Regions from separate parts of the Homo sapiens genome. Here region 1 is linked to region 2. The links are contacts of gene promoters, found by promoter capture Hi-C in human tissues and cell types (Jung and others, 2019). All regions are on one chromosome and are shown on one strand. The core of a region is centred on a gene start or on the middle of the fragment in contact, and the rest is flanking DNA. Distances in the headings are between cores, read along the strand shown.

Region 1 (2,802 bases), core at 16-2,515, 64 kb before region 2:
GCTGGGATTACAGGTATGAGCCACCGTGTCTGGCCTGTATCTATATATCTACATCAATATCTCTATGACCACTAGTCTATACTGTTTGATCCAGATCTAATACAGCACCATAGGGTTCAATCTGATTTACTTCCATTCCTTAATTGCAACTCCCTTTGCTGACAGCTTTCACTTTCATTGGTTTATTTACATATTAATGAGTTCCCCTGTATGAATCAATCCCCGCTCTCTAACTCCGTCCTTTCCACCTTATAGATACCTCTTCCCGCTCCATGGGCCCTGACTCCCCATTCCAGGCTGCCTCTGCTGCATGGATCCCTCCTCACTTGTGTGGGTTCCAACTCCCCATAACAGGCTGTTTGCCTGCAGGAATGCCCTGCTCACCCTGCCCAGGTCTGACACCCCATTCCAGACTGTCTTTCCTCCAAAGTAATGAGAAAAGCACTGGACAAGAAAATACAGCCCAGGTTCTGTTTACCTCTGACACTGGCTAGCTATGGGATTCTGGAAAAGTCACCCTAGCCCAAGTCTCATCATCTCTCATCTAGACCACTGCCTACTAACTGGTCTCCCCACATCATCTCTGGCCTCCCTCCAATGTGGTTTGCATACAAAAATGTGACCCATCACTCCTCTAAATAAAGATCAAATTTCTAAAGCAACCCATGAGGCTCTGCTTGATCTAGCCGTTAACAAATTCTCTCACCTCAATTCTATCACCTTGTCTCTCTTGAATTATTTTCTCCCTCCCTTCCAGTTACACCGACCGGCCTTCTCTCAGTTCCTCAGAAGCATGATGATTTCCTTGTTTGGAAAGGCTTTTCTGTAGCCACTCTCTCTGCTTCTCCTCCTCTTCCCTTCACCAAATTAACTCCTTATCATCTTTCAGGTTTCAGCTCAAGGGTTACTACTGCCTTGTCTAGAAGCTTTCCCAGGGCTCCAGACCAGGTTGGGTCTCCCCTTTTTTTTTTTTTTTTTTAGACGGAGTCCCGATCTGTTGTACAGGCTGGAGTGCAATGGCCTGATCTTGGCTCACTGCAACCTCTGCCTCCCAGGGACAAGTGATTCTCCCACCTCAGCCTCCCGAGTAGCTAGGACTACAGGCACGCACCACCACGCCCAGCTATTTTTTGTAGTTTTAGTAGAGATAGGGTTTCAGTATGTTGCCCAGGCTGGTCTTGAACTCCTGGCTTCAAATGATCCACCCACCTCAGTCTTCCAAAGTGCTGGGATTACAGGTGTGAGCCACCGCACCCAGCTGGGTCTCATTTTTAATATACTTGTTTAAAGAACTACCCTTTCTGGCCGGGCACGGTGGCTCACACCTGTAATCCCAGCACTTTGGCAGGCTGAGGTGGGCGGATCACGAGGTCAGGAGATCGAGACCATCCTGGCGAACACGGTGAAACCCTGTCTCTACTAAAAATACAAAAAAATTAGCCGGGCGTGGTGGCGGGTGCCTGTAGTCCCAACTACTCTGGAGGCTGGAGCAGGAGAATGGCATGAACCCGGGGGGCGGAGCTTACAGTGAGAGGAGATCGCACCACTACTGCACTCCAGCCTGGGTGACAGAGCGAGACTCCGTCTCAAAAAAAAAAAAAAAAAAAAGAACTACTCCTTTCTTCTGAGCACTTAGTCCATTAATAATTGTATTCATTGATGAGATTATTTAATTGTCTCCCTGCTCCAGTAGACTGTAAGCTCAGGGGAGAACTGGATCTGTGTCTATTCTTAATTATCACGGATGTCTTCACACTCAGCCCAGTACTTAGCACAGAGAAGGTACTAAAAAGATAATTTCACAGTACCTGAAACCTCGTGAGCACTGTGTAAGTATGTGTTGAATCTGAGTTGTCTTCACAGGATTCTTTTAAGGGTGAAATGAGTTCGAGTGTAATGACCATGAAAGTGCTTTGAAGTCTGGAAAGTACTGTCTAAATGGAAGATTTCACTGTAACTTCACAGTCATTGGTTTAAAACCTTGCTAACGTTTCTGGAAGTCTAAAGAAATCACTTTCCTGTGCACATGTTTCTTTCCCATCTTAGAGATTACTTCAGACTGGAGTGATTTGGAAGCAGGAGAGCCTGAGTTCAAATATCATCTCTTTCTTTACTGTCTGGGTGATCGTAGGCACCAAGCTCTTCCTCACTCAGAGCTCTCACATATATGGTTCCTTCTGCCTGGGATGCTCTTTTCTCTCTCATACGTGGCTGGCTTTTGATCATCCTTCAGGTGTCTGCTTAAACTGGCCAGGCATGGTGACTCCCACCTGTAATTTCAGCACTTCGGGAAGTCGAAATGGGAGGATCTCTTGAGCCCAGGAATTCAAGATCAGCCTGGGCAACCTAGCAAGACCTCATCTCTTAAAACAAAAAAATTAGGCGGTCATGGTGGCATGCACTTATAGTAGTCCCAGCTACTTGGGAGACTGAGGTGGGAGGATTGCTTGAGCCCAGCAGGTGGAGGCTGCAGTGAGCTAGGATTTTGGTTACTGTGTTCTGTTCATTTCCTTCACAGCACTCATGTTTTGTCTATTTATTGTATGCCTACTTCACTTGATTTTAAGCTTCTTGGAGTCAGGGATCATGTCTTAGTGTGCATTGAGCATCATGCATTGTGATAGAGACTCAATCAATTAGGTGAATATATGTTTGGTTGAATGAATGAATGAAGTTGCCTCCTCTTCAAATTCCTCATCTGATGATTATTTCACAGGGTTGTTAGCAGACTTAGACCACCGATGCAAAGGGACTAGCACAATGTTGGGCAAATAACAGGTCTTCAATAAATACAGATTCCCT
Region 2 (2,876 bases), core at 71-2,570:
AAAATCTCACTTGTAAGTAGTCTTTCCGAATTTGAAATTCCTTCCCCTGCCAAAGCAAAGTAACAGATTACGAGCTTATTTAACCATTAATAATTGTTGAAATAATGCGAACAGTATCCCAAGATGCACCCTGAACTGGGCGCAAATCCTTTTGAGTCCTGGACTCCCTGAAATGGTTGGATGCCTCCAGTGGAGCCCCAGAGACACTCAAACAGCAAGCCAGAGGGTTTTCTGCGTCAGGGATTCCTAAATCAGAGAGGCCTGTATTAAGGATATACGAAAAAATAATTAACCTTTTGAGGTCAAACCCACAGATGACAACCATGTCTTACCCACAAAAGTCTCCTGAACACAGCAGTGGAGTGATCAGTGAGGCCAGAACTGTCTGAACCTGAAATCCCGGCTCTTCTGGAATCAGAATTCAACGCTGCTAGGGAGAAGGATGAGTTAAACCCATCAAAGGTCTACACTCCCACTTTACACTCGAGAAGTGACTCCAATCTTTCTCAGATTTCCCCCATATGTGGCTTTCTAGTTTGGAAATAATATTCTATGTGGTGCACATTACTGATGCTCACACACTCCCAAAAAACTTTTTTAAAACAGTCATCTTAATAGTAATTTTGTAAATCTGGTGTGGATTTCTAGAAACCTCAGAGTCTAAACTGTCAAGGTATTGATGCGAGCAGGATTTGCAAATGTGGGGTTTAACAGCCTGATTTTCCTCGGACACCTGGGTGGCTTCAGGTGAATTCGGGTTTCTCACAAAATGAAGTCCCCTAAGTAAATTAAATCGCGTTCTCGAATCTTGGCCTCGGGGCAGGTGGTGGTGGTTAAAGAAGCTATGAAGGTTAGCGGCTTTCTCCAACCCCAAGAAGTCTCGCAGCTAGAGTGCGGCTAGTGTGCGGGCCCGAAGGAGACTCTGCTGCGGGAGGCCCGGCGAGCGCGCCCACCCGACCGGCTCTCGTGGACCCCGGCGCGCCTCCCTGCCCTCCCCGGGCCCGCCTCGCTCACCGAGGTGGCCGCCGACGATGGTGACGGCGATCTGGTCCATAAGCACCGCCCGGAAGCGCACGTCCTGCTCGGAGCAGCGCTGCCGGAGGGCGCGCAGGATCTGCACCTGCGGGTAGTCCTCGCGGATGCGCCGGTCCGTCAGGAACCAGAGCTGGGAGCACATGGCGGCCAGGGCGGTGCGCCCCGCGCGGCGCGGACCCCTCGGCGCCCCGGGCCGCTCGCTCAGTAGGGCGAGCGGAGGGGCGGCCGGCGTCCGGGGCGAGCGCGCCACGGCTCCGCTCCCGCGGGTGCGCCAGGCGTCTCTGCAGCCCTGACCCAGCGAATCCGCCCGGCCACTCAGCGCCGCCGTCGGCCCCGCCAGCCAATCAGCGCGCGGCGGCGGGCGCTGGCGGCTGCAGAAGCGACCCTGGCGGGCGGTGCCGGGGAAGGACGGCGGGTGGGGGGCTTGCGGCGGCGGGGGAAAGGACCCGGGGTTCCGGGGAGCGAGCCGCCGGCGGGCGCAGGCGAGGCGGAGGAGGGCAGCCCCGGCAGGCCCCGGACACCCGGTGGACGTGGCGCTGCGGGCTGGGGTGGGACAGCCGGAGCAGGAGGGGCCGGGGCGGCGGCCCTGTGAGGCTCGGAGGGTTTCCGAGCTGACGGGCCAGAGATGCGCAGTGGGCGGCGGATGCGTCTCCCAGGCGATCCCGGGCGCTCGGGGGCTGGGACACGGGCGGACGCCTGCTGAGCCCCGGACAGGGAGGGCCTCGGGGACGTCCCAAAGGAGATTCCGGGGTATGGCGAAGGTCACACGGCTAGGTCCCCAGTTGGACCCTAAAGCATTGGAAGGAGAGGGATTTCTCTGCCGAAATCCTAGCCTGAAGCCCCACGGGGGTGGGGGAGGATGTAGGAGAGGGGGAAGTTGAGTCTTACCCACCTCCCATTCAGATAATTTGAAAGTGCATTTCCTGGGGTCTCAGATTTTCTTACACTGGACATCCCCTCCTAGGTTTCAGCAGGTCTGAGCCTTCACAGACTCGAGGTCATAAAAAATTGACCTAGCATCCTTTTCAGTTAGAAGGACCACTGGCTGGTCTCCCTTCACCACTCCCGCTCTCCCCAGGCCATACAACTGAGTCATCTTTAAACACTGTCCTTGGTCCTGGCCAATTGCAAACCCTGCCTGCAGACAATAGTGTTTGAAGCCAGATTTTCCTTTCTAAATAACTGCAGGATTGAAGTTAGCCATTTTTGGAGACTGCATTTGCTCTTCCAGTTCATTAAAATATGCCTTTTTTTAATTTCTTTTTTGGCTTAGGGAAGCAAGAGTAGTTTCAAGGTAGACCCAGCAATGGCAACTTAGAAATGGGGTAAGTTGTCTCAGGGAAGGCACAGGCTTCTCTGTAAATATTGTGCAGGTGTGTGCATTTACTCACTAAGATGAGCCTATAGGAAAGTTCTGTATACTGGAATTTCAAAAGTTATTTTTCAAGCAATGTTTTTCTTTTTTTTTTTTTTTTTTTTTTTTGAGACGGAGTCTCGCTCTGTGGCCCAGGCTGGAGTGCTGTGGCGCGATCTCGGCTCACTGCAAGCTCTGCCTGCCGGGTTCATGCCGTTCTCCTGCCTCAGCCTCCGGAGTAGCTGGGACTACAGGAGCCCGCCAGTACGCCTGGCTAATTTTTTGTATTTTTTAGTAGAGACGGGGTTTCACCGTGTTAGCCAGGATGGTCTCGATCTCCTGACCTCGTGATCCACCCGCCTCGGCCTCCCAAAGTGCTGGGATTACAGGCGTGAGCCACCGCGCCTGGCCTTTTCAAGCAATCTTAAGTAAGTATTTTGATGTTGCAAAATATCTCCTCCCCCGTTCTATGAATGTATTTTCTTAA

What was found. Contacts are between HindIII fragments. The study calls those that stand out against the background at their distance.
Region 1: a contact is called between a fragment that was not itself captured here and the fragment with the promoter of RIMKLA in region 2, in 2 of the 25 tissues and cell types used here (H1 embryonic stem cells and aorta).

The regions. Positions count from the first base shown.
Region 1 is chr1:42,443,609-42,446,410 of GRCh38, reverse strand. The region is part of intron 3 of ZMYND12 (zinc finger MYND-type containing 12); the gene reads left to right. Among named protein-coding and RNA genes, the nearest start is that of ZMYND12, 11 kb to the left of the region's middle. The HindIII fragment of the contact is 6,677 bases long and covers 1-2,802 here.
Region 2 is chr1:42,379,236-42,382,111 of GRCh38, reverse strand. RIMKLA (ribosomal modification protein rimK like family member A) reads right to left here and starts at 1,320. Exons shown (of 5, transcript NM_173642.4): 1 at 1,015-1,320. The coding sequence starts at 1,177. RefSeq lists silencers at 1,104-1,323, 1,404-1,523, 1,534-1,713. The HindIII fragment of the contact is 8,902 bases long and covers 1-2,876 here.